Regions from separate parts of the Homo sapiens genome. Here regions 1, 2 and 3 are each linked to region 4. The links are contacts of gene promoters, found by promoter capture Hi-C in human tissues and cell types (Jung and others, 2019). All regions are on one chromosome and are shown on one strand. Each heading gives the region's core, a stretch centred on a gene start or on the middle of the fragment in contact. The rest is flanking DNA. Distances are from core to core; before and after follow the strand shown. Region 1 has its middle 15 kb from the start of CCDC74A. Region 2 has its middle 54 kb from the start of CCDC74A. Region 3 has its middle 31 kb from the start of CCDC74A. Region 4 holds the start of CCDC74B (coiled-coil domain containing 74B).

Region 1 (6,969 bases), core at 3,523-6,022, 1.4 Mb before region 4:
TTTTGCCTGAGTGAATAATCAGACCTTGTCAATGACCTTGAGCAGTAGGATGTAAGTAACTCCCTCATGCTTAGTGTTCCAATAATGGAACATTATTGGAACGCTAAGCATAAGCGGGTTAACAAGATCATGAAAGCATAGCTATTCAAGTAACTAATTATACAACTGATTTTTTTTCTCATCCCTAAAACACAGTAAGGGACCAGTTATTTTAAAAATACAACACAATGACAATTTTGGCTTGTTGTTTGTTAAGGCCATTGCTTGGCATAAAGAAAACAAAAAGAGGAGGAGAAACAAGAATAGAAACATGAAATAGAAGCAGCAGCAAAAGAAAATGAAGAGGAACAAGAAGATGAGAAGAATATACAAACTAGGAAAAGCAAAAAGAACAGGTGCAGGAATTAGAAGGCCTATAATGACACCTTTTATCCCCTCCCCAATTCACGAAATTTGAAAAAGTCCAAGACTATCACAACAAAAAAGAAGGAAAAAATGGCCGGGTGCAGTGGCTCACGCCTGTAATCCTAGCACTTTGGGAGGCCAAGGTGGGTGGATCATGAGGTCAGGAGATCTAGACTATCCTGGCTAACACTGTGAAACCCCGTCTCTACTAAAAATACAAAAATAAAATTAGCTGGGCATGGTGGCAGGCACCTGTAGTCCCAGCTACTAGGGAGGCTGAGGCAGGAGGATGGCATGAACCCAGGAAGCGGAGCTTGCAGTGAGCCAAGATCGCGCCACTGCACTCCAGCCTGGGCAAAAGAGCAAGACTCTGTCTCAAAAGAAAAGGAAAACACACACACACACACACACACACACACACACACTGTGACCCCCTAAACTTTGTTAAGAATGAGACAATGCTGCCCCTCACGCCTAGCTCAGAAGGAGGGCACTCTCCAGAGACTGCAAAAGAAGGGGGAGGACCCCTTTCCCTAAGTGCACCTCCACCACTGCCACCGAGGCCCATGGTACAGCACCCGCAGGTTCCTCCCCACCCCAGGTTGGGCTGGGCCCTGCAGCGCTCCTACTCCCCCTTCCCGGCCCCCAGACTTGCTGCCACTACCACCACTAGCACCAATGCCAATACAATTGCTGTCGCCGTCAATGCAGCAGCCCACCCTACAAGGTTCCTACCACCTTGCCCCCGCAGGCACCCTCCTACCACTCCTGTCGAGCTGCAGTCTCTGTGGCTGCCACCAATCACATGAGGCGAGCTGCAGAGTCACGCCACATGCAGGCTCCAGCGTACCACAGGTGATTCCTTCTCCTCCTCCTCCAGCCTGGCTTGGAGCAGCTAGACGGGCAAAGCCAGAAAAGCCTAGAATGGGATGCAGGGAGTGGTAACGTTAGAGCCTCACCTTGTCATGCTGGCCACTGGGTGGCAGGGACCAGCTTCAGCTAAGGCACTCACACCCACCCACCGAAGTCCAGCCTCTCTTTCTGGCAAAAGGTGGCCAGGAACTGGGGCGGGTGTGAGTGCCTATGCTGAAACCACCCCCATCCAGGTGCAACTGGCCAGAAATTGCTGGGCCCACCAGGGCTGCACTCCTTGGGGAGCAGGAGTAGGAGAAACTCAGACCCAGCCAGCCCTCCCCACTCAACTGCTGGTTCCCGTTCCTGACACCTCCACCCACAGTGCCCTGTTCCCACAGTCCCCCGCGATGCCCACTAATCCCCACCCGGTAGTCCCAGGTGGTCTCCCCAACACAGAGCATGGGGTGTGGGCGGGAGGTGCAGGCCGGAGAACCGCAGTGGGTGTGGGGGTCCTGCCATGCTCAAGATTGCACGAGCAGGAAGAGATCACCCTCTAGAGTCTGGAGTACGGAAAGGAGAAGAGTCACCCGAAGGAGCAAGGAGACCATGGCTGTTGCTGTCCCCACCACCTCTGCAGCCGACCAACACCACTGGCAGTATAGCCCCCATAGCAACCCTAACCTGACCCCTGCCGCCGGCAGTGTAGCCCTCGGACAGCACACCCAACACACCCTGTGCCAGCTGCAGGCAGTGTAACCCCAATACCCCCCCAACCACCCCCTCCACAGGCAGTGTAGCACCCGATAGTGCCCACAACCTGACCCAGCCACAGGTGTTGCTGCACAAGACAGTGCCCCAAAATCGCCGCCCCCACCCCGCCACGGGTAGGGGAGCTCCTGATAGTGCACCCTGAGCAAGGGCAGTGCAACACCTGACAACACTCCTAAACCACCCCCCACTACCAGCATCGTAGCTCCGAATAACCACCCAACCCACTCCTTGCCCTGGGCAGTGCAGCAGAAAATAGCGCCCCTAACCCATCCCCCGCCACCAGCAGTACACGTTAGTGCACACAACCTGCCTCCCCCGCCCACCACCCCCGCCACCGTGGGCAGTGTAGCCCCAGATAGCCAGCCAACACCGCACCCCCACCGCCAGCAATGCAACCTCGGAGAGTGCCCCCAACCAGCCCCCTGACACAGGCAGTGCAGCCTCGGGGAGTGAGCCCCAATAGGACACCCAACCCCTGCCCCCACATGCGGGCAGTGCATCCCCAGCTGACTCACCTACACCAGGACATTTCTACCACTCTGGCCGAGCTGCAGTGTCCGAGGTCACCACCAACCGCAGCGAGGCGAGCCGGGGTGGCTCAGGCTCCAGCCTCCAGCATGCCTCGGTGCCGCTCCCTTCTACTCGTCTTCCTGCCCAGCAGGAGAAGCTCCTGCTGCCCGCCGCCCTCCTACCGCTCTGTCGACACCACCAACTGCAGTGAGCCAGTGTCCGAGGCTCCAGCCAGAAACAGGTGGCAGCCATGCCGGATACCAAACGCGAAACTGAAGAGCCTAAAATGACCTGACACCGCCTCAGCATGCTTTACGTACTGAGGTCGCGCACATGCAGTTCCTGGACTACATGTTCTGATTGGATGAGAGAAAAAACCTCTAGGCCTACTCTGATTGGACTTTATTTTCATGCTGTGATTGGTTGTCTCAAGACTTGCTCTCATCCAATCAGAACATGATAATAAAGTCCAATCAGAGTAACCCTGGAGGGTTTTTCTCATCCAATCAGAACATGCAGTCCAGGAACCCTCATATATATATATAACCTCAGTATATGAATGCTCCCGAAGGGAAGGCAGGCCCTTCCAGGTTCCCGTACTTTCTTATGGAGCTGCTCAGTGACCGGCTTAGAGGACCGGGAATGGGTAATTGGAGGCTGGAGCCGCTCCACTGTGGTTCGCCTCGCTGCAACTGGTGGTGACCGCGACCGAGATGGCAGTGCGGCGGGAGCGGTAAGAAGAGGAAAATAGTTTTGGGATAGATGGAGGGGGTAAAGAGGGTGGTTAGTCCCAAAGGGAAAAGAAGTTAGCGAGCAGGAGAACGCGTTGCAAAAAGACGGTGGGGAAAAGATGGTGGGAAAAAAAGTTTTTGGGTAGATGGTGGGGGAAAAACAGGGTGGGGAGCGCGAAGGAGGGAAGGTGTTGCAGAAAGATGGTGGGTAAAAAGTTTATGGGTAGATGGAGGAGGAAAAGAGGGTGTCAAGGGGAGGAGGAAAGAGAGGATGGTCGGGGGGAGAAACAGCGTTGAGCAGTAGGGAGAGAAGGTTTTGTGAAAAGACAGTGGGGAGAAAAGGTTTTGGGAAGATAGAGGGGGAAAAGAGGGTAACAGGTGGGGGAAGGGAAAAGGGTAGCCAGCGGGAGAAAGACAAGGTTTTGCAAAAAGATAGTGGGCAGGAAAGAAAGACGGTGGAGAAAAAAAAGACAGTGGGTAAAAAGTGTTTGGGTAGATGGAGGGGGGAAAGAGGGTAACGAGGAGGAGGAAAGAGGGTGATGAGAGGGAGCAGGGAAAGAGAGTTGGGAAAAAATGGGAAAGTAGTTTGGGGTAGATGGAAGGTAAAAAAGAGAGTGGCAAGCAGGATAGGGCAAAGAAGAGGATGAATGGGAAGGGGGGAAGACTGAAAAGACGGTGGGGAATATTCTGGGGGATAGATGGAGAGAGAAAAGAGGGAGGTGAGCAGGAGTGGGGAGAAGGCTTTGCGAAAAGACTATGGGGAAATGTTTTCGGGTAGATGGAGAAGTGGCAAGGAGGAACGGGGGGAAAAGACGATGAGGAAAACAGTTTTTGGGTAGATGAAGGGCGAAAAGACAGTGTTGAGCGGCAGGAGTGAGGAGAAGGCTTTGGGAAAAGACGGGAGAAAACGTTGTTGCTTAGATGAAGGAGCAAAAGAGGGTGATGAGAGTGGGATGGGGAAAAAGAACGTGGCCAGGGAGAAGGGGAAAAGACGGTGGGAAAAACCAGTGGGGAAAGTGTTTGGGTAAATGGATGGGGAAAAGGGTGGTGAGTGAGAGAGCAGAGAAGGCTTTGCAAAATGATGGTGGGGAAAAAGTTTTGGGGTAGATGGAGGAAGAAAACGGGTGGCGAGGGGGAGGAGGCCAAAGGCGGTCGGGAAAAGAAGGTGGGAAAATAATGGTGGGAGACAAAGATTTGGGGTAGATTTTTTTAAATCAGATTATTTGTATTTTTGCTTTTGAGTAGTTATTTATATATTTTGTGTATTAACCCCTTGGCTGATGGATAGTTTGCAAATACTTTCTTCTATTCTCTGGGTTGTTTCTTCGTTCTACTGATTTCTTCCTGTGCTTTGCAGAAGTTTTTAAGTTTTATGTAATTACATCTTTGCTTTTGTTGATTGTGCTTTTGACAAGTTTAATGTAATTACATCTTTGCTTTTGTTGCTTGTGCTTTTGATGTCTATTTGAAAATTCCTTGTCCTAACCAGTTTCATGAAGGATTTATCCTATGTTTTCTTCTCTAGTAGTTTTATAGTTTCAGGTCCTACATTTAAATCTTTATTTTGAGTAGATTTTTGTATATGGTAAGATAACGGCCTAGATGTATTCCTGTACATGTGGGTGTTGAGTTATCCTAGCAGTTTATTGAAGAGATTGTCCTTCCTTCCCGAATGTGTGTTCTTGGTGCCTTTGTTAAAAATGAGTACACCATAAATGCGTGAATTTATTTCTGATTTCTCTATTCTGTTTCACTTGTCTATGTCTGTCATTCCTTCGTTTCTCTGTTTCTCCCCCGCCCCTTTTTTTGATAGTATTATGCTGTTTTGGTATTACCATGCTTACTACAGATTTGTAGTATGTTTTGAAGTCAGGTGTGATGCCTCCAGCTTTTCTTTTTATTCCAGATTCTTTTGTCTATCTGAGATATTTTGCTTTTCCATGTGAATTTTAGGATATTTTTTTCTATTTCTATGAAGAATGTCTTTTGTAATTTAACATGGATTGCATTGACTCTAGATCACATTGGGTGATATAGATATTTTAACAATATTCTTCTAGTGCATGGACATGGGATATCTTTCCATTTACTTGTGTCTGCTTTAATAGCTTTCATCTGTGTTTTATAGTTTTCATTGTGGGATCTTTTGTCTTTTTGGTTAAGTTTATCCCTAGATATAATTATTTTGGTAATGAAATAGCTGTCTTCATTTCTTAGGTATTTCATTATTGGTGCATGAGTGTGCTACTCATTTTTATATGTTGATATTGTATCTTGCAACTTGACTAAATTATTTCTAGTAGGTGATTTTGTGGAATCTTTAGGGTTCTCTGTTTCTCTATGTGTATATATATATATGATCATGTCACCTGCAAACAGAGAGAGCTTGACTTTCTTTTTTCCAATTTGGATGCCTTTTATTGCATTCTCTTGTCTAATTGCGCTACCTAGGACTTCCAGTACTATGATGAATAAAAGTGGTGTAAAAGTAGCCACACTCGTTCCAGGCCTTAGAGGAAGAGTTTTAACCTTTCCCCATTGATTATGATGTTAGCTGTGGGTTTGTCATATATGGCCTTTATTGCACTGAGATATGTTCCTTCTGTACTCATGTTGTTCAGTTTTTGTCATGAAGGAATGTTTTTTTATTTTTTCAGCATCTACTGAAATGATTATATGGTTTTTGTTCTTGATTCGCTGAATGTGATGTCGCACATTTATTTATTTGTGTTTTATTGAATCATCCTCATATTCCTGGGATGAATCCCACTTGATCATGGCAGATCATCTTTTTATTGTGTTGTCAAGTGCAATTTTCAAGTATTTTGCTGAGGATTTTTTTGCATCTGTGTTCATCAGGGATATTTAAAATGCCTGTGGTTTTCTTTTTGTGTTGTTTCCTGGTCTGGTTTTTGTACCAGGGTCATGCTCTCCTCATAGAACAAGTTTCGAAGACTTACTTTGTCTTCATTTTTTGGGGAATATTTTGAGTAAAATTGGTATTAGCGCTTTTAAAAACGTTTGGTAGAATTCAGCAGTAAAACCGTGATTCTTGTGTTTTTGTTTGACAGAAGACTTTATTACTGCTTTGATTACATTACTCATTATTGATCTGTTCCGGTTTTTTGTTTATCATTCTATCTTGGGAATTTGTTATGTGTCCAGAAATTTATCACTTCTCCTAGATTTTCCAACTTGTTTTTATATAGGTGTTTTTAGTAATCTCGTATAATCCTTCATATTTCTGTTATCAATTGTAATGTCTCGTTTTTCATCTATGATTTTGTTTTCTTTTTCTTTTCCTTAGTCTAGTTAAAGCTTGTCAGTTTTGATTTTTTTCTAAAAAATCCAGCTCTTTGTTCCATTGACTTTTTGTATTTTTTGTTTCTATTTTTAAAATTTCTTCTCTAATCTTTATGATATTTTTTGTACTAATTTTAGCATTTTATTTTTCTCGTTTTTCTCATTACTTCAGGTATACTGTCAGGTTAGCTATTTGAGATCTTTCTACTTCTCTGATGTAGGCATTTATACCTATGCCTTTTTCCTCTTACAACTGCTTTTGCTGCATCCCACAGGATTTGTTATGTTGTGTTTCTATTCTTTTTTCAATAAATTTTTAATTTTCTTTTTATTTTTTTCATTTATTTATTTATTGTTCATGAGCATGTATTTTAATTTCCATGTATTTGTACAG
Region 2 (7,028 bases), core at 4,529-7,028, 1.4 Mb before region 4:
CCCAGGACAGAGTTGCTTGGCTGTTTTGGGGCTGGGAGAGATCTCGAAAAGCCTACCAGACCCAGCATCATCAGTGGCTCTCCCACTCTCAATGCCTTGGTCTTTCTGCTTTTTTGGCTGTCACATTGGCACATTTCTTGGTGCCACCAAAACAACTCAAAATAATCTCTTTTCAGTCATGCCTGCATAACATAATTGGCTTCAGGTTTCCTGAAAACAGAGAAGGTGAAAATCCAGAAAAAAGGGCTACTTGTTTTCTTCCTCTGATGGTCCAGCCTGTCTTCAACCACAGGACTCCACGCTGGCCTGGGGTCTGAGCCTCCTGGTTCAGTCACTGTCTAGCTTCGATCAAAACCATGAGCAACTGAAGCAGAATATGGAAGTGGAAAATGCTCTGGGTTGTCCCCATGTTGGGAAATTATTGTCCAACAAACGAGTAGCTGTCCAAAGCACTGCAAGACAACCAGTGTGCCTTGGAGCTTGTCAGAGGAAGCGTTCAAGAGTCTCATTCAGCAAGTCTCACTTCTTCTTTATGTTCTAAATCACAACACAGAATCACAGGCCAGGCTTGCAAGAAGCGAACATTAACTTCTATCCACATGTACTTAGCCAGGGCTCATTTGAATGGCCACATGTAGCAGCAAAGAGGCTGGAAAGGAGTGTAATGGTGTGACTAGTGGAAAGAGGAGACAGGTTTGTTGTTCTTCACCCCATGTATACTAAGGATGTTTTTAGAAAAAAAAAGAAAAACTTTTTTTTGCTCAAGCACAGTTTATGCAACAAAATGGGATTCAGAATCTAATTTCACAAAATAAATCCAGAGGAGAGACTTGAAGGAAAAGGGCAAAGATATAACTCAATAAAGCCCATAACATCACAGAATACGGTGATGGTGATGGTTTCTAACCTTGAGAAAGTAAGTGGGTTCTTCAGTTTCTAAAATTTATTTATCAGTTCTTGAACCCAAGAAATCAAAATAGATCATAACAGAAAAAAATGACCTAGCTTTCACCTAGACAAGTTAGAAAATGCAGAAGTAGCCTGGCAGAACTACAACCATCTGACCTTTGACAAAACCACAGAAATAAGAAATAAAGAAAAGGCTCACTATGCAACGAATGGCGCTCAGATACATGACTAGCCATGTGCAGGAGAATTAACACTGCAGCCCTGCTTCTCATCATATGGAAAATTAACTCAAGATCAACCAAAGATTGAAATAGAAGACTTCAAATATAAAAGTCCTAACAGACAACCTATCAAACACCTTTCTCAACATAGGCTTTTGCAAACCACTTAGACAATTTAGTACCCAAAAGAAATGCAAGAAAAAACAAAAAGTACAAGTCTGGCCGAAGAAACTACAGACCTGCTGGACAGCAAAGCAACTGCCAACACAGTAAACACACAGCCTACATGATGGGAGAAAATGTTCCCAAACCAAGCATCTGACCAAGTTCTAAAGCCAGAATCTAGAGGACCTTACCTAAATCAAGAAGCAGAAAAATAACACAAGTAAAAAATGGGCAAATGACACAAACACACTAGTCAAAACAAGACTTAAAAAAGACCAACAGACAGGAGAAAATGCTCAACATCCCTAATCATCAGAGATGAGGTACCAGTGCCATCACACACCAGTCAGAATGGCCATTTGTCCAAACACAAAACATATTTGTGTAGCAGTAGATAAAAGCAAACACAGCTACACTCTTGGGGTAATGCAAACTAGGTCTCAAACTGTGGAGAGCAGTTTCAAGATTTCTCAACAACAACAACAAAGAGGGAAAGGAAGCAGAGATACCCTTCGACCCAGCAATCCAACCCTGTGTATCCACCCAAGGGAAAAATACATGTGTCTATCAAAAAGACACAGACATTTGCATGTTCACGGGAGTGCTACTCACAGGAATAAAGACGTGGACCTGACCTAGATGCCCAACAACAGAAAATGAGATGTTTTTAAATGTGATACCTATACACCACAGAATACTAAGAAGCCACCAAGGAAAATCAAACACAGAAACAAAATCATGCCCACAGCATCAACACAGACAGAACTGCAGGCCACTCTGCTAAGCGAACTCAGGCAAGAGCAGAAGACCAAACACCGCAGGTTTTCACTTACAGGCAGAAACTCAACACCGAATACACACGAACGTAAAGATGAAATCAACAGATGCTGGGTACTACCAGACAGAAAAAGGAGGGAGACAGGAAGCCTTGGAGGAAGAATGATCCAACTGGTGCTGTGTTCACCGCCTGGGTGATGGGTACGCTAGGACCTCAAGCATACAAAGTCTGCTATATAGCCATGTAGTGAAATGAACCTGCAGGCGTCCACCCCTCGATCACAATAAAAGTAGCTATCATTTTAGAAAACCCAGTTTTGGAAATAGAAATAGAAAAAAAGGAAGAAAATACAAAAAAACACACAAAACGAAAGAAAAAGCCTACAGTGGCCCAATCCATCCATTAGTGGCATGAACACAGAAAGATAACCAAATGGACACAACGAAGGAGCCAAATAATCAGCCCACAATTATAAACACTGAATCCATAGGATTCTTGCTTTTCCCCCAAAAGCACACCAAAAGCACAATGGTTGAAGAAACTGGGGGGTCACATGCAAAGGACTGAAATAAACCCTTCCCTTACACAAGACACAAAAAGCGACACAAAATCCACTGAACACTAAAGGGCAATTGTGAAACCAAAACCTCCAAGGAAAACACATAGGGTGCATGTCTAGTGTGGGAAAACTTGAACCTGTGCACCTAAGCCACAAACAGAAAACACATAGGAATCAAATACCCATAGACCATACAATGGCTTCGCCATCTTGCTTTTCTTCTCAAAGGGACACAGAAATCACCGCTAACAAAAGCTAATGTGACCATGTGAGACTAAGGACAACTTCAGAGCTTCACATAGCTTCAACACTGGAGAGAAAACAGTGAACCCAACAGAAGACATCCCACAGACTGGGAGAAAATTATGGAAAACTGTGGATCTGGAAGGGCTTCTTATCTGATATATTCAAGAAACTAATGGTCCCAAGTGGACAAAAACACAAAAACCAATACACATGCTAAAATTGCCCAAAAGACTGGCATAGGCATTTCTGAAAAAACCTGCAACAGACTCGCGGGTAATAGAAGTTCCTCCACATCAGTAATCATCCCCTAAATGCAAATCCCAACCACACTCAGATACTGCCAAACTCCCCAGAGAACGAGTATGACCAGGAACAGCAATAAAACCTTTTGAAGATAAGGGCAGTGTAGATTTGCAGACAGAGAAACTCTCACACACTATTGGTAGGAATGCAAATTTGTATACCCACTGGGAGAGACAGCAGGAGGTTTCTGAAACAACAATACAACTACCAGTTCCCGTAGCCATCCCAACATTGGGTATACCAGCAAAGCCAAGGAACCTTGTAACTTAAGGAGATATTTGCCTTCCCGTGTTTGATGAAGTACTCCGGACAATAACCAGGGTATGGAAGTAACCTACCTGTCCATCCAGGGAGGAAGAAATGCAGGAAATGAAAGATGCATGCACGATGGTATACTCCTCAGCCATCAAACTTCTGGACAGCAGGTCACTTCCAGCAAGGTGGAGAAAGCTGAAGGACATTAAGTCAAAGGAAATGAGCCAGGCAGAGGAAGACAAACACAAACACAGCACGATCTCACGCGCATGGAATCTAATGAAATGCATCTCACAAAGGAGCAACGTCAATAGTGGGTACCAGAGGCTGAGGGGAGGCTTGGAAACAGCTACAAAGTGACGCTCAGATGAATGGCAAGAATTCTGGTGTTCTACAGCTTAGCAGGGTGACTAGGCTTAACAGTCTCCTAGCATGATATTCAATATAGCGGGAAGGGGTGATCGGGATACTCTCTCCACCAAGAAATCCTCACTATAGCCTGAAACAGAGACACGAGGTCCTGTAATTTGATCACAACAGCACTGATCCATATGTCAAATGGTCCCTTGCGCCCTTAAAGTAAAAGCATAGACCATGTGAAATTTTTGTTTTCAAATAGGATCACAACATATTTCTGAAAGTCCTGTGGGACAATGAAGTGCCGCGCACTCCCAAAGCAGTTCCTACACACACAGTCGGTGGAGCCATCACACTCTTCCACTTTAACCTACTTCCCAAAGCTTTAGTTACCCAGATTCCTACACACACAAACTCGGTGGAGCCATCACATGCTTCCACTTTAAATTACTTCCCAAAGCTTTAGTTACCCAGATGATTTGTGATAGGCCTTAGCAGAGAAACACAGACCAGGGGACACAATGAAGGTGCCTAGGAGTAAGTTCAAATTGGTATAGCCTAAGCACATGTTTAGAAAGAACCACAAACGTCACCACAAGAAGGGAGAGTCTGTCCAATACAGCGTTCTGAGAACTGGATATCCCTAGGCAAAATAACAACATAGGGTCCTTATTGTGTGAAATTCACAATCATCTATTCAACATGAATGAAAGACCTATACCCAAAACTTGAAACTATCACTCTCTGAGAAGAAAGTATATGGTGTGTGGATACCTGGGCCAACCTGGATCTATGCTTACAATTTGCAAAAAGGAAAATGAAAACAATATGGGGGAAAGAAAATACAAACAACAAACAAGCAAAACTCACAATAGATTGGTATGCTAGTGAATGTCCTTTATTTCATCAGTAACCAATGTAGTGGAAAACCACAACACTGCACACCCCTGAATCTGCATCAGACTCATCAGACTATATGGCTTGGGGGAAAGAAAGAATGAAAACAATGAATGAAAAGAAACAAACATCCAACGGATGATAAGAAAGGTATAGGGGAAAACACAGCTAAGGAGATTTTTTTTAGAAAAGGTGTAAGTAACTAACACTACTAACTAGCAGAAAAGAGAAGGTAATTAGCAAACCAAAATTGGGCAAAGAAACCAAAGAGTCTTTTCTGCAAAGAACACCTAAAACTGAAAACAAATGTACTTAACACCTAGTAGTTAATATCACTAATCATAAGAAAAATGAAAATCAGAACAAGACTCAGATATCGTGTCCCTCTCAAAGGAAAGAGTATTACAAAGAACTTCATATATCTTAAAAGAAGGGAAACCACAAATGTTGCTGTGAATTTCCAGAGAGGAGAGCTCTCTTGTCCACAACTGTTGACAAGGTAAATTAGTGCGCACACTACAGAGGCCACCTGGAGGTTCCTCTAAAAACTAAAAATACAACGACCATTTCACTGAGCCGCGCTACCACTGGGTGTGCACTGGTAGCATACGTCATCAGTACACAGAAGACACATCTGCCTTCCCATGCTGCCTGTGGAACCAGTCGCAATAGCCAGGATAAGGAATCAACCTACCTGTCCACCCACAGAGGATGAGATCCAGAAACCACAATATCCATTCACAAACAAACACTTTTCAGCCAGACACAGGTACTGAAATCATGTCATCTGCGGCAACATGGTGGAACCTGGTAAATGAAACACACTAGGTAATGAAACACACATTATGGTAAATGAAATACTAAGCAGAGAAAGACAAACCTCACATTACCTCACTCATGGGGAATCTAAGACCCTTTAATCTCACATAGACCTACAAAGCACCACAGTGCTTGCCAGGGTTGGAACAGAAGGCTGGGCACGGGTGGGGATAGGAAACAGGTACAAAGTGACATGCTGCGTAAGAGGAATGAAACCTGCTGTTCTATTCCTCAGCAGGGTGACTAGAGAAAACTTTACCAGAGGATAGTTTTCAAGGCAGCCAGAAAGAAGAGTTCTGGCTCTCCTCAACTCAAAGACAGGAACACTCTACAAGGCAAAAAATGACACTATATACCCTGATTTCATCACTATCTGATGCATGCATGGATCCAAATATTCCACTCTACCCTCTACTTGTACACCTTTAGGATGGGTCGATTTTGTTTTTTGAAAGCAATGTGAAGAAACAATGAATGCTAAAATTCCCATGGGACCACGAAATGCTCTGAAACTCCAAAGCCATGCTGGGAGATCCAGACGATGTCAGATGGACCACGATCTCCAATTTCAAATTTCACAGAAAAGCTACAGACCCACCTCCACCTAGACAGAATAGGAAACCCAGAAGCAACCCACATACCTGCAACCATCTGACCTTTGAAACACCAAAATTCAGACGTGGAAAGGGCTCACTGTGCGATGAAAGGCACTGGGATAGTGTCTAGCCACTTGCAGATGAACAACACTGGAGCCTCACCTCTCACAAGATGCAAAAACTAACTCAAGGTGAATGAAAGATTTCAGCAGAAGACCGCAAACTATACAAGTCCTACAAGAAAAACTAGGAAATACCTTTCTCAACACAGGCTTTGGTAAAGAATTTAGATGACTTGGTCCCTAAAAACAACAGCAAGAAAAACCAAAATGGACAAGTTGGGCCTAAGAAACTAAAACACTGCCAGATAGCAAAATAAATCACCAGCACAGTAAAAACATAGCCTACAGGATGGGAGAAAATGTTCCCAAACTACGCTTCTGACCAAGGTCTAATAGCCAGACTCTAACATGACCTTAAAAAAATCAAGAGGCAGAAAAACAAATAATCAAACAATGGGCAAAAAGACATGGAGACATACTTGTAAAAAAAAAAAGACGTACAAGTGACCAATAGACAAGAAAAAAACATCAACATCACTCATCATCAGAGAAATGCAACTCACACGCACACTGAGATACCATCTCAAGTCGGTCAGAATGGCCATTTGTCCTAAGTCCAAGCATTTACATGGTGGCAAGGCAGCAGAGGAAAGCAAACACTGCTACACTCTTGGTAGGAATAAAAACTAGTCTCCCACTATAAGAAGTAGCTTGGAAGTTCCTCAAAGAACTTAGAAATACCATCCAAATGAGCAATCGCATAACTGGGTATCTACACAAAGGAAAATAAATCATAAATCCTTCTTTCAAAATGACACAGGCATGGATGTGTTCTTGGAAGTGCTATTCACATGAAAAAAT
Region 3 (6,778 bases), core at 3,847-6,346, 1.4 Mb before region 4:
AAGAATACTCATAGTTTCCAAATTCTGGAGAAATTAGGTAGAGAAAAACAAATATGCTCCAAATTTTGTTCACAGGAATATACAATAATTTATTGTTAAAAGCTGTAAATAAAAGTTTCCTTAACTCTGAAAAACTAAAAGTATTAGCAATGTTTTAAGCAAAAAGTCAAAAAGATAACTTCAGTTTTCTATTGGTTCAGTTATCTCAGTTAACTCCTGTTCTGTTTGATAGTCATGAACATTTCAGCTCTCCATGAGAATTTTGAAATTTTTTGCTTTATTCCAGTGTAACAATTTCCAAAATTATCAGAAAACCTGAACTTAAGTGCACCTGTTAGAGTCCTATAGCTGATTATAAACCCACCTTATAAAGAGGGTTTAAAACGAGACAAAACAAGACAATTACCTGTGGATGAAAAAAAATTTAAGGCAGCCATAGTTAAAAGACACAATTGACAAGTGAATTTGTTACCTCCGTGGCACACAATGATTTTAACATAACAATTATGATTATTACAAATAATGTACACTAAGTTATATCAGAATTACAGGAGTTTCCCATCATTTTGGAAACATACCAAAAACATATACAAATGGATCTGAAAGAAAGCCAAACACCATTTCATATTTGACAATGTTTCCAAACATTTTATAGCAGGTAAGCCAAATTATGTCATTTTTAGACTTTAGAGAACCTAATGTCTTAAAGGATTACTTAGGATAGAAAAAGACATAATATATAATTTGATTTTGGGAAGTTTGTCAAATATAAAATGTTTAAAACACTTGATGTTAAAAATAGGATTACAGGTCATTGTAAAGTCATTTATTTAACCAAAGTGATAATTTAAGAATTTTTTAAAAACAGCATGAAGCCAATTACATTTGTTTGCGGCATTATTCACAATAGCAAAGACTTGGAACCAACCCAAATGTCCAACAATGATAGACTGGATTAAGAAAATGTGGCACATATACACCATGGAATACCATGCAGCCATAAAAAATGATGAGTTCATGTCCTTTGTAGGGACATGGATGAAATTGGAAATCATCATTCTCAGTAAACTATCACAAGAACAAAAAACCAAACACCGCATATTCTCACTCATAGGTGGGAATTGTACAATGAGATCACATGGACACAGGAAGGGGAATATCACACTCTGGGGACTGTGGTGGGGTGGGGGGAGGGGGGAGGGATAGCATTGGGAGATATACCTAATGCTAGATGACGAGTTAGTGGGTGCAGCACACCAGCATGGCACATGTATACATATGTAACTAACCTGCACAATGTGCACATGTACCCTAAAACTTAAAGTATAATAAAAAAAACTTAAAAAAAAAATTTTGTAAACAATCTATAAAATGTAATCTTGATTACAAAATATAATTCCATCAGCCTTTTATAACCTGTACTAAGCAGTTGGTTAATGCTTCAAGAAAACCTTGTTAATCTGACACAAGCGTCCATATACTGGTTTTGCATCAGTGTGCCTTTGACATTAATAAGTAATGCATAGAGAAACTGAACCTACTTTATTTTTCAAAATCGGCCCTTACAATCTTATGCTCCCACCTCTTTCACAATAGTCCCTGGGTCTTGAGGAGTTGAATAGCTTTCATCATTTCTTGCCCTGTGTCTCAGGAATGCAGCAGTTTATTTGAATTGGCATCTTCTATGGGGCCTGAAGATGAGCCTTTAATTGCTGTGGGTGTTTAAGATTAGCAGGACTTAGTGTCCTTTTTAGACCTAGGAGTTAAAAGCCCTGTAACTCAATGTTGCAAGGATTTTAAAAGCATATACAGGAAGACACATGGATGTAATGACCTCAATTTTTAAAAAATCTCAGGTTTTTTTTCCTAAGCAAACCAAAACTTAATATGACAACTTTATCATATAGAAGTTTTTGGGTTTTTTAAACATATAAATCCTTGTTGTGACTTTACACTGACTGTTTACGACATGGTCAGACTTTCTGATTTATTCTGAACACCCCCTCTTTTTAAACAACCAAGTATTTTATTTTAGGACTAAACTTACTAGACGGGATTCTTTCTTAGGTAATAGTATTTCTCTTTAAGCTCTTTTTACCTCAAAAACAACCTCTTTACAACTTTCTTTACAGCTTTTTTTTATTTCCTGGTTCCTTTTACCTTGTTTTATACATAACTTTAAATAAGCTTTGAATTACACAAAACTTGTTCAACTTTTTTTTTTTTTTTTTAGAAAAGAAGACACACTTTTTTTGGCAAGAATGTTTTCCTACAATATGTTTATTGGAAAATACCCAAATAATGAAATATCTATTATTTAATTTTACTTTATATTCTAAATTATGACGTTTGTCTACAAGTACTTATCCCACTACATTTACCTAATTGTTTACCTAGATTATTTATGAAATCTGTGATAGTCATGATTTAAAGTTATGAAACCACCACTGCAAAATTATAACTGAGACAGTGAAAAAAGATTTGGCCTAACTGGCTCCATCTTGCTCATAACCTCCAAACCGTCTTTGTTCATTCCTGCACATAGGCCGAACTGACACTGGGAGGAACCTGGTTTATACTTTAGCTTTGAAACAAAGGCAGTAACAGTCCTTTCCTTACTGTCTGTGGACTAGACTGCCAAAAGCCACAGGATTAGAAGTGCTAGTAATCTTACTAAATTCAACATGCAGCTATTTTTATTAAACCCATATCAATGTCTTACTTATTAAAAATTACTCAAGTAAAGATCATTCCATTTTGGGCTGAGTTTATAGTTTTGAAACCCCCCCATGCCAAATTTTGACACCTTATAGTATCTGGCAGGAATATGTATGAAATCGGTTGATTACTAAATGTAAACAAAAATGTATGCTGCCAATTCTTAAGACATTTCTAATATTGTTTTACAATAATTTTAAAGCTAGCTTATTAAAGATTTTACTTAAGTTACATAAAGTTGAAAAACCATTTGACTAGTCTTTTTTAGTATCTAACTTAAGTACTTTTATTTTTCTTTAAGCCAATTAATTAGAGCTCTTTCATATATTTTTGGTAGTGGAACATCCTGTATACAACACACAAATACATATAAAAATCTGTTAGGCATATCGATGGAAGTACTGAAACCGCCTTTACAAAATTATAACTAATGAAATTATGACAGTGAAAGAAATCAGACCTAACCGACTCTATCTTGCTTCTAACCCTTAAGCTGTCCTTGTTCATTCCTGGGTGTAAGTTCAACTAACTTTGGGAAGGAATTTGGTCCACGGTTCGACTCTGAAAGCAAATTGGTAATAGCTCTTTCCTGAAAAGAACCCCTTCTTGCCTGGGGAGCAGTCTGCCTTTGCAGGACTAACATATTAGCTACAAGATTAGAATGTACAGTTTAGGGGTCATGCAGTCTCTGGCTCCGAAAGTCTGAACCTCCCCTAACTCCTGCAGGTAACATCACATCACTACTGTAAAACCTAAGATCAGGGCTTGTTATGTGTTGCAGACCCTGCCCAGGCCGGTAATCTGGCCCAACCAGTTGTGCCATCATACCCATGAATAGAAGACAGCAAGAAAAGCTAACTTCAACCCCCTATGATTCCATCTCCAACCTGACTAATCCCCAATTCCCAAGCCCCTACCCACCAAATATCTTTAAAAACTCTGATCCCCGAATGCTCGGGGAGACCGATTTGAGTAATAAACTTGGGTCTGCCACACAGCCGGCTCTGCGTGAGTTACTCCTTCTCCACTGCAGTTCCTCTGTCTTGATAAATCGGTTCTGTCTAGGCAGCGGGCAAGGTGAATGCATTGGGCTGTCACAGTACATTTTATAGATTTAAAGACCTCCGCCCTTTTTTTCTCTCTCAGACTTTCAGATTCTTGATAACTTGTTTCACAACCCTAGGCAGCTGTCAAACTAAACAGCCTTAAATTGAAACATTAAAGGAAACAACTCAGGTGAAAATCCAATAGCAAAATTTACTTCATAAAGCACAGAAAGTAAGAGTCCGATGGTGCTACAGGAAGACACTAATATTTTTCTTCGAGCCAAATTAAACTACACTCTTCCTTAAAAACCCAAGAGTAGTAGCCTCTGTTGCAATAACTATTTTAGTCAAAAAAAAAAATCAAGTGAAAACAGAATTCAGTCAACTGAGAAGAAAAAGACAAAAAATAAAATAAACACATTTGCTCAACAACAACAAAAAGACAAGGTCTTAGAAGAGTAAAACAAACAGAACAAAAACAAAAACATGAAGGTCTTCCAAATACAAACACACACACATGCACACACATCTGGATGTTACCCTTTTAATTAAGCTTTTACACAATTGTGCTCCTTTAAACAAAACTCTTTTAATCTTATTACCATATTTCAGCGAGGACAAAATGCTGCTAAACTAACAATGGTCACACAAATTATGATTTCTGAGCACTCTAAGTGTAAGCACAAATTAACACCAGCTGGTTGTTAAATGTTAACTTTATTCTTTAAAAGGAATTTGCAAGACAGAATCCAAAACCAGTTTCTTACCTAGCGATGGGTCTCAGGCTGTAAACTGCTCTCTACCATCCTAGAAGCATATGCTAGTGAATTTCTTTAACTTCATCAGTCACCAACATAACGGAAAACCAGAACACTGCACACACCTGAAACTGCATCAGACTACATGGCTTGTGGGCAAGAAAGAATGAAAAACATGAATGAAAAGAAAGAAACATACAAAGGATCATAAGAAGCGTTTGGAGAAAAACACAGCTGATGAGGCATTTTTTGGAAAAGGTGTAAGTAACTAACATTACTAACTAGCAAAAAACACCAGAAAACAGAAATTAATTACCAAACCAAAACTGGATAAAGAAACCAAAGAGGCTTTTCTGCAAAGAACACATAAAACTGAAAACAAGTATGCTTGTTAACACCTGGTTAACATCACTAATCATGACAAAAATGAAAATCAGAACAAGACTCAGATACTGTGTCTCTCTCGGTGGAATGAGTATAACAAAGACCTTCATGTATCTTAAAAGAAGGGAAACCACAAAATGCTGCTGTGAATTTCCAAAGAGGAGAGCTCTCTTATCCACAACTGTTAACAGGTAAATTGGTACGCACACTACAGAGGCAGGAGGTTCCTCAGAAAACTGAAAATATGACAACCATTTCACTGAGCTGTGCTGCTACTGGAATCACATGAATCAGTACACGGAAGACACATCTGCCTTCCCACGCTGACTGCGGAACCAGTCGCAATAGCCAAGATAAGGAATCAACCTACCTGTCCACCCCCAGAGGATGAGATCCAGAAACTGCAGTATCCAGTCACGACCAGATACTCTACAGCCAGACACGGGTACTGAAATCAGGTCATCCGTGGCAACACTGTGGAACCTGGAGGACATTATGGTAAATGAAACACACTAGGCAGGGAAAGACAAACCTCGCATCACCTCACTCATGAGGAATCTAGGAAACTTTATCTCACACAGACCTACAAAGCACCATTGTGCTTGCCAGGGTTGGAACAGAAGGCTGGGCATGGGTGGGCATAGGAAACAGGTACAAAGTGACACGTTGCGTAAGAGGAATGAAACCTGCTTTTCTATTCCTCAGCAGGATGATTATGGAAAACTTTACCAAAGGGTAGTTTTCAAGACAGCCAGAAAGGAGGGTTCTCGCTCTCCTTACTCAAAGACATGAAAACTCTACAAGGCAAAAAATGACGCTAAATACCATGATTTCATCCCTATACGATGCATGCATGGACCCAAATGTCCCTCTCGACCCTCTAGTTGTCCATCTTTAGGACAGGGCTAATTTTGTTTCTTGAAAGCAACATAGAGAAACAATGCTAAAATTCCCGTGGGACCACAAAATGCCCTGAAACTCCAAAGCCATGCTGAAACACCAAAGGTCAGATGGACAAAAGGCTCGCTATGCAGTGAAGGGCACTGGGCTAGGTGGCTAGACACATGCAGATAAACAACACTGGAGCCTTAACTCTCATCAGATGCAAAAACTAACCCAAGGTCAATGAAACATTTCAGCAGAAGACCTCAAACTATTAAAAGTCCTACAAGGAAACCTAGGACATATCTTTCTCAATACGGACTTTGGAAAGCATTTAGACAAAAAGCAACAGCAAGAAAAACCAAAAGGACAAGCTGGGCCTAAGAAACTATAACACTGCCAGATAGCAAAATACATCACCGGCACAGTAAACACACAGGCTACAGGATGGGAGAAAATGTTCCCAAACTATGCTTCTCACCAAGGTCTAATAGCCAGACTCTAACATGACCTTAAAAAAATTAAGAGGCAGAAAAACAAACCATTCAAACAATGGGTAGAGAACATGAACAAACACCTCAACATCACTCATCATCAGAGAAATGCAACTCTCACGAACAGAGATATCATCTCACATCGGTCAGAATGGCCATTTGTCCTAAGTCCAAATATTTACATGGTGGCAAGGCAGTGGAGGAAAGCAAACCCCGCTACACTCTTGGGAATAAAAACTAGTTCTCACACTATGAGAAGTGGTTTGGAGGTTCCTCAAAGAACTTAGAACTACCATCCAAATGAGCAATCGCATAACTGGGTATCTACACAAAGGAAAACAAATCATAAATCCTCCTTTCAAAATGACACAGGCATGGGTATGTTCTTGGAAGTGTTATTCACATGGAAATATAAAATAACATCGAGATTACATGTTTTAAAAGTGCTGTACATAGATACCACAACAACCTACATAGCTTAAAAAAACTTAATGGC
Region 4 (6,929 bases), core at 2,538-5,037:
CTTCGGTCTCTTTTTCTGCCTTATGCCCCTCAGTCGAATTCCTTCTTCTGAGGAGCCAAGAATTGTGGTTGCTGAAGACCCATCCGGATTCACTGCCAGTGACTTGGACACCTTCCACTGCTAACACTATTAACTCGGACACCTTCCACTGCTAACACAATAACACTGGGTTATTGTGTTTATTTGGAGAGTGCGTATGGTTTAAGGAGATGTGTATGGGTGCCAGGTTGACAAGGGGTGGACTTGTGATGGTTAATTCTATATGTCAGCTTGTCTGGGCCACCGGATGCACTCATATCTGGTTACACATTATTTCCTGGCAGGTCTGTAAGGGTGTTTTCAGAAGAAAGTGGCATTTAAATTGGTGGTGCAAGCAGCCATGCATGCATTTCTGGAGTAGCTTCCCTATAGCTTGCAGGAACCAGAGCGGGCAATAAGAGCCCCATCCTCCAAATACTGGGGATCTGTGCTCTGATTGATGATGGCTGCTGTTGATTGTGAAAATGCAGACAAAGAGGCAGGCAGCCACTGCTGCAATCTCCACTGCTATGTTTGCAACGTCCCTCCTCAACCCTCACTGCCTCCCTGGGTACACACCTTCCAGGAGGTTTTTATGGATCAGCACCTCCTCCTGCCTTCATTTTTCTTTTCTCCTTCTTGGGAACCAGATGTTTAGGACTAGGACATTCAAAAGCAACCATATACCAGGCACAGTGGCTCATACCTGTAATTTCAACACTTCTGGAGGCTGAGGGAGGAAGATTGCCTCAGCCCAGGGGTTTGAGACCAATCTGGGCAACATAGCAAGACAAAAAAAAAAAAAAAAATTAGCCAGGCGTGGTGTGTGCCTGTAATCCCAGTTACTAGGGAAGCTGAGGCAGGAGGATGGCTTGAGCCCAGGAGTTCCAGGCTGCAAGTGAGCTATAATCGCGCCACTGCACTCCTGCCTGGATGAATTTCTCTCCACTCAGGATATCCTCCCTCCCAGCAATAATATTGCTACCATTCATTCCAGCTATCCATAAACCATAATTACTAAATACATGTTGCCATAATTTTTTTGAACAACCTGTCATCTATTAAAAATAATAATAAAGATTATATTTTATTTTACTTTATTCCTTCTCTAATGCACTTCCCTTTTTTTAGATCCAAATTTCCTATATCTTTTTCCTTCTTTTTTTGAAACAGGGTCTCTCTGTGTTGCCCAAGCTGGAGTGCAGTGGTGCAATCACGGCTCGCTGCATCTCAGCCTTCTCAGTAGCTGGGACTGCAGGTGTGCACCACCATGCAGGCAAACTTTTTAGTTTTTTGTGGAGTCAGGGTCTGGCTATATTGCCCAGGCTGGTCTCTAACTCTTGGGCTCAAGAGATGCTCCTGCTTTGGCCTCTCAAAGTGCTGGGATTACAGGCATCAGCCATGCACCTGAGTTTTCATTTCTGTTGTGTTTTTGACTTCTTACATTTTCTTTTAGTTTTTTGAGATGGAGTCTCACTCTGTTGCTCGGGATGGAGTGCAGTGGCAGGATCTCAGCTTGCTGGAAACTTCACCTCCTGGGTTCAAGCAATTCTTTGGCCTCGGCCTCCTGAGTAGCTGGGATTACAGACATGCACCACCATGCCTGCCTTTCTTTTTTCTTTTTTTTTTTTTGAGATGGAGTCTTGTTCTGTCGCCCAGGCTGGAGTGCAGTGGCATGATCTTGGCTCACTGCAAGCTCCGCCTCCCGGGTTCACGCCATTCTTCTACCTCAGCTTCCCGAGTAGCTGGGACCACAGGCGCCCACCACCATGCCTGGCTAATTTTTTGTATTTTAGTAGAGATGGGGTTTTACCGTGTTAGCCAGGATGGTCTCGATCTCCTGACCTCATGATCCGCCCGCCTCGGCCTCCCAATAATTTTTGTATTTTTAGTAGAGATGGGTTTTCACCATGTTGCCCAGGCTGGTCTTGAACTCCTGACCTCAAGTGATTCACCCACCTCGGCCTCCCAAAGTGTTGGGATTAGCGGTGTAAGCCACTGTGCCTGGCCAACTTCTCACATTTTCTTTTCTTTTCTTCTTCTTTTTTTTTTTTTTGAGATGGAGTCTTACTCTGTTGCCCAGGCTTGAGGGCAGTGGCATGATCTCGGCTCACTGCAACCTCCACCTCCTGGATTCAAGCAATCCTCCCACCTTAGCTTCCCAAGTAGCTGGAATTACAGGTGCATGCCACCACACTAGCTAATTTTTGTATTTTTTAGTAGAGATGGGGTATCACCATGTTGGCCAGGCTGGTCTTGAGCTCCTGACCTCAAATGATCTGCCCAACTCAGCCTCCCAAAGTGCTGGGATTACAGACATGAGCCACCCTGCCTGGCCTTCACATTTTCTTTAGATTATTTCTTAGAACGTCTACCTCTCTGTTCCCATTATCAGTCTGTAATCTCATGTTGTCCACTTTTTCCATTAGAGCCCTTAGCATATTAATCATAGTCGTATTCCATTTCTTGGTCTGATAATTCCAACATCTCTGCCATATTTAAGTGTGGCTCTGATGCTTGCTGTGTCTTCGAACTGTGTTGTTTTTTATTATGCCTTGCAAGTTTTTGTTGAGGGCTGGTCATGCTCAACCAGTAAATGGACTTTCTGTGTGAAGTTTTATGTTGGTCTGGTTAGGGGTTGTGCCATGTGTGCTGTTTGTTAACTGGAGGTGTCAGAGGCTTAAACCTCCTCTAGTGTCTTAGTTTTTGTCTCCCTGTTGTCTTTACGGTTTCCTAGAGATTTCTCGAATAAGCTCTGAGATGAGCAGTTCTTTCACTTGTATCCCCTGTTATTATACAGGAGCCCCGCTGATGTGGCAGTAAGATGTGGGGAAGGAGAGCCAGAGCAGGCTGGGGTTAGCTATGTTCCCTTCCTCCAGGTTTGTTGGTGTCTGGCAAAATTATGATTGGCCTGGCTGTGATTTTTTTTTTTTTTGAGGGCAGGCCTTGTAAAAAAAAAAAAGACTTTTTATTTTTATTATTTTTAAATTTATTTATTTATTTATTATTTTTTTTTTTTTTGAGACAGAATCCCACCCTGTCGCCCAGGCTGGAGTGCAATGGCGCGATCTTGGCTCACTGCAACCTCCACCTCCTGGGTTCAAGTGATTCTCCTGCCTCAGCCTCCGGAGTAGCTGGGATTACAGGTGTGAACCACTGCGCCCGGCCTCTTATTTTTAGGCAGCATCTCACTCTGTCACTTAGGCTGGAGTTCAGTGGTGCCATCATAGCTCACTGCAGCCTCGACCTCCGGGGTTCCAGCAATCCTCCCACCTCAGCCTCCCGAGCAGTTGGGACTACAGGCGCAAGCCACCATGCCCGGGTTTTTTTTCTTTTAATTTTTATAGAGACAGGGGCTCACTTTCCATCCAGGCTGGAAAGGATGCCTTTTATTATTATTATTATTATTATTATTATTATTATTATTATTTTAGATAGAGTCTCTGTCGCCCAGGTTGGAGTGCAGCGGTGCGATCTCGGCTCACTGCAACCTCTGCCTCCCGGTTCAAGCTATTCTCCTGCCTTAGCCTCCGGAGTAGCTGGGATTACTGGCTCCCGCCACTACGCCCGGCTAAATTTTGTATTTTTAGTAGAGTCGGGGTTTCGCCATGTTGGTCAGGCTGGTCAGGAACTCCTGACCTCAAGTGATCCGTCCGCCTCGGCCTCCCAAAGTTCGGGGATTACAGGCGTGAGCCCCGGCGCCCAGCCCTGGATGCCTTGTAAATCACTACTCACCCAGGAAGAGCCAGCGACAGGCCCCGCCCCCGCCAAACGCCTGGCGCCCTCCGTCGCCCGGTTTCCATGGTGACGGGGCGCCAGGCTAGGGCGGCCTGGCCACTGAGCCGGGGTGCAGTGGCAGCGGGAGAGTACCTGGCGATGGCGATATGAGCGGTGCGGGGGTGGCGGCTGGGACGCGGCCCCCCAGCTCGCCGACCCCGGGCTCTCGGCGCCGGCGCCAGCGCCCCTCTGTGGGCGTCCAGTCCTTGAGGCCGCAGAGCCCGCAGCTCAGGCAGAGCGACCCGCAGAAACGGAACCTGGACCTGGAGAAGAGCCTACAGTTCCTGCAGCAGCAGCACTCGGAGATGCTGGCCAAGCTCCATGAGGAGATCGAGCATCTGAAGCGGGAAAACAAGGGTGAGCCGGCGCGGGGCCCTAGGCCGGCCCTGCCTCCCCAGGCACACTCAACACTGCCGCTCCCGCAGCACAGAAACACAGCCATCAACTCCAGCACACGCCTGGGCTCAGGGGGAACACAGGACGGTAAGCCCGCCCTGCCACGCTGAGCTGTCCCCTCCTCCCAGAGGGAGACCCGCGTGGCCCCCGGGCAGTGCCGAACCTGTCTGCCTGTCTCCTAGGGCAGCAGCATTTCAGATGCTGACTCCGCCAGTCCTCTCCTCTCCAAGCAGGGTCAGACACACCTCTGTTAAAAACTTTATAGAGGGGCCCGGGCGCGGCGGCTCACGCCTGTAATTCCAGCACTTTGGGAGACCGAGACGGGCGGATCGCGAGGTCAGGAGATCGAGACCATCCTGGCTAACACGGTGAAACCCCGTCTCTACTAAAAATACAAAAAGTTAGCTGGGTGTGGTGGTGGGCGTCTGTAGTCCCAGCTACTCGGGAGGCTGAGGCAGGAGAATGGCGTGAACCCGGGAGGCGGAGCTTGCAGTGAGCCGAGATCTTGCCACTGCACTCCAGCCTCGGTGACAGAGCGAGACTCCGTCTCAAAAAAAACAAAAACAAACAAACAAAAACTTTATGCAGGGAAACGTGCCCAAGTGCGAGTGCGCAGCTCAGTGAATTTCTTCCAGCTAAACACATCGGATCAGGAGCAGGCATTCCCCCGCCCCCCACCCCGTCCCCGCTTCGCCTGTGCCCATGCTGTCCTCCGGCGGGGCCTTCCCAACTGCACCCTTAGCTGCTCCTCACCCCCACGCCCCCCTTTCTCCCTCCCTCCTCCCCCACCCCTCCTGCCCCGAGCAGGAGGAGGGCCCGCCAGGATGTGGGATGTGGCTCCGCTCCTCGCTCTTGCTTCAGGAGGGCTCCAGCAAGGGCACCAGTGCCCGCGGCCTCCTCTCCCGCCCCGTTCCCTGCTGCTGCCTTACCTGAGTGCCGAGTATCCCATCACCAGGCGTCTGTTTTGTCAGGACCCCGCTTCCCCATGTCTTCTTGAGCCTCAGGACGCCCCGTTCCTCATATCTTCTTGAGCCTCCCCCCAGTCCCTGATGCCCACGGGATCATGACACCGCCATAGCCAGGGATTCCAGAGTTCACCTCTGTACCCCTAAAGCCCAGGTTCTGCCTGGCAGTGTGGACGCCCTCCAGTCATCTCAGATGGATGAGGCTGATATGCCAGGTGGGCTCTGCCTAGGGAACAGGCAGGGGCCACTCCTGGCCTGACACCCACGACAAAGGCATGGTGGAGAGCGGGATCCATGGGGCAGGGCCCAATCAGCCAGTGGGGGGGCAGGACTTTCGGGCTCAGCAGCCAGGAGAGGACAGGCCAGGCTTCTTCTCTCAGAATGGCTGTGGTTTCACAAGTGCTGAGGAGAGCGTGTGCTTGCTTTCAGATCTCCGTTACAAGCTCATAATGAATCAGACATCACAGAAGAAAGGTGAGAACTGGGCCCTTCAGTTCCTGATGGGATGCTCTTGCCACCCAGGGGAGCCCCTCCAGACTGTCCTTGCCCACCTGGCTGCACTGGCCCCTGTATGCCAACCCAGTGGGGACAGGTTCTGGGGGACCTGGACAGATGCCGCTACCTCTAGCCGTGGCTGGATGATGTTACGCAGCCAAGCACAGCACGTGCTGCTCTCAGGAAGCCCAGGGCCTGAGGTCATTGCAGTGGGGAGGTGGGCACAGGGTGCTCCCCAGACCTCCCTCCTCCAAGTAGAGCTGAAATGGGAAGGAACCCCTGGGACAGCCCCTGCCCTGCTAGATCTTTGCCTCAGATTGCTGCTGTGGCCAGGCCCAGGATCTCCAGCCCTATGGCTCTGAGTCCTGACATGCTGGGGGCCCAGGGGCTCTGGACACACTCCATCCAGGGATCCCTTCCTGCCATCTGGGCAGCAACCATGGGGACAAAGGGAGGAAGCAGAGTCCTGTTTCCTTGCCACTTGTCCAAGGCACTTCCCCATCCTGACAGCGGCCCCCACCCAGCCCAGGATTCTGGGTTGTGGTCTCGAGCTCACTTCCCGTTATCTTTGGGGCTGGGGCTGACATCAGGAGGACATCTGACTGGTGGATGGAGCCAGCCTGGGAACATCGTAGCTGGGGCAGTGCCTAGGGCTCTCCCTTCCCAGAGAGACATGGAGAATGGGGTTGAGGGAGGGCCCTTCCCTAGCCGCTGTGGCAACTCCAGTGAGCTGTTCTGGGCAAAGTGTGGCCCAAGTCGGCAGCCCCAGCCCTGCAGTGCTGGGGACGCTGACAGGACACGGGAAGAGGCCATGCTCTCCCTCGGGACCTGCTGTTCCATGTGTCCCAAGCCCTCCTGCTTTCCAGATGGCCCCTCAGGAAACCACCTTTCCAGGGCCTCTGCTCCCTTGGGCGCTCGCTGGGTCTGCATCAACGGAGTGTGGGTAGAGCCGGGAGGACCCAGCCCTGCCAGGCTGAAGGAGGGCTCCTCACGGACACACAGGCCAGGAGGCAAGCATGGGCGTCTTGCGGGCGGTAGCGCCGACACTGTGCGCTCTCCTGCAGACAGCCTCTCCACGTCAAGCTTCCAGTCTGTCAAGTCCATCTCTAATTCAGGTGAGCAGGCTGGCGTCCATGTGCTCACAGGGGTGAGTGCCCCACGGGGACCCCAGCCTGGGTGGCCTCTAGGGGTGCTGACCAGGTACCCTCTGCTGGGCCAAGCTCCAGGATTTGGGGATGAAGGTGCAGCTGAAAAGAGCCCTGCAAGCTGAAGCCACCG

The links. The method cuts DNA at HindIII sites, captures the fragments that hold promoters and counts their contacts. A contact is called where the count stands out against the background at its distance.
Region 1: a contact is called between a fragment that was not itself captured here and the fragment with the promoter of CCDC74B in region 4, in 1 of the 25 tissues and cell types used here (dorsolateral prefrontal cortex).
Region 2: a contact is called between a fragment that was not itself captured here and the fragment with the promoter of CCDC74B in region 4, in 1 of the 25 tissues and cell types used here (lymphoblastoid cells).
Region 3: a contact is called between a fragment that was not itself captured here and the fragment with the promoter of CCDC74B in region 4, in 1 of the 25 tissues and cell types used here (lymphoblastoid cells).

Annotation. Positions count from the first base shown.
Region 1 is chr2:131,539,401-131,546,369 of GRCh38, reverse strand. No RefSeq gene overlaps it. Among named protein-coding and RNA genes, the nearest start is that of CCDC74A, 15 kb to the right of the region's middle. RefSeq lists enhancers at 2,167-2,666, 2,667-3,168. The HindIII fragment of the contact is 9,764 bases long and covers 1-6,969 here.
Region 2 is chr2:131,578,621-131,585,648 of GRCh38, reverse strand. No RefSeq gene overlaps it. Among named protein-coding and RNA genes, the nearest start is that of CCDC74A, 54 kb to the right of the region's middle. The HindIII fragment of the contact is 3,126 bases long and covers 4,216-7,028 here.
Region 3 is chr2:131,555,962-131,562,739 of GRCh38, reverse strand. No RefSeq gene overlaps it. Among named protein-coding and RNA genes, the nearest start is that of CCDC74A, 31 kb to the right of the region's middle. The HindIII fragment of the contact is 3,687 bases long and covers 3,253-6,778 here.
Region 4 is chr2:130,141,970-130,148,898 of GRCh38, reverse strand. It overlaps CCDC74B (coiled-coil domain containing 74B), which reads left to right and starts at 3,787. Exons shown (of 8, transcript NM_001258307.2): 1 at 3,787-4,152; 2 at 5,586-5,630; 3 at 6,716-6,766. The coding sequence starts at 3,903. RefSeq lists an enhancer at 5,672-5,751. The HindIII fragment of the contact is 11,101 bases long and covers 1-6,929 here.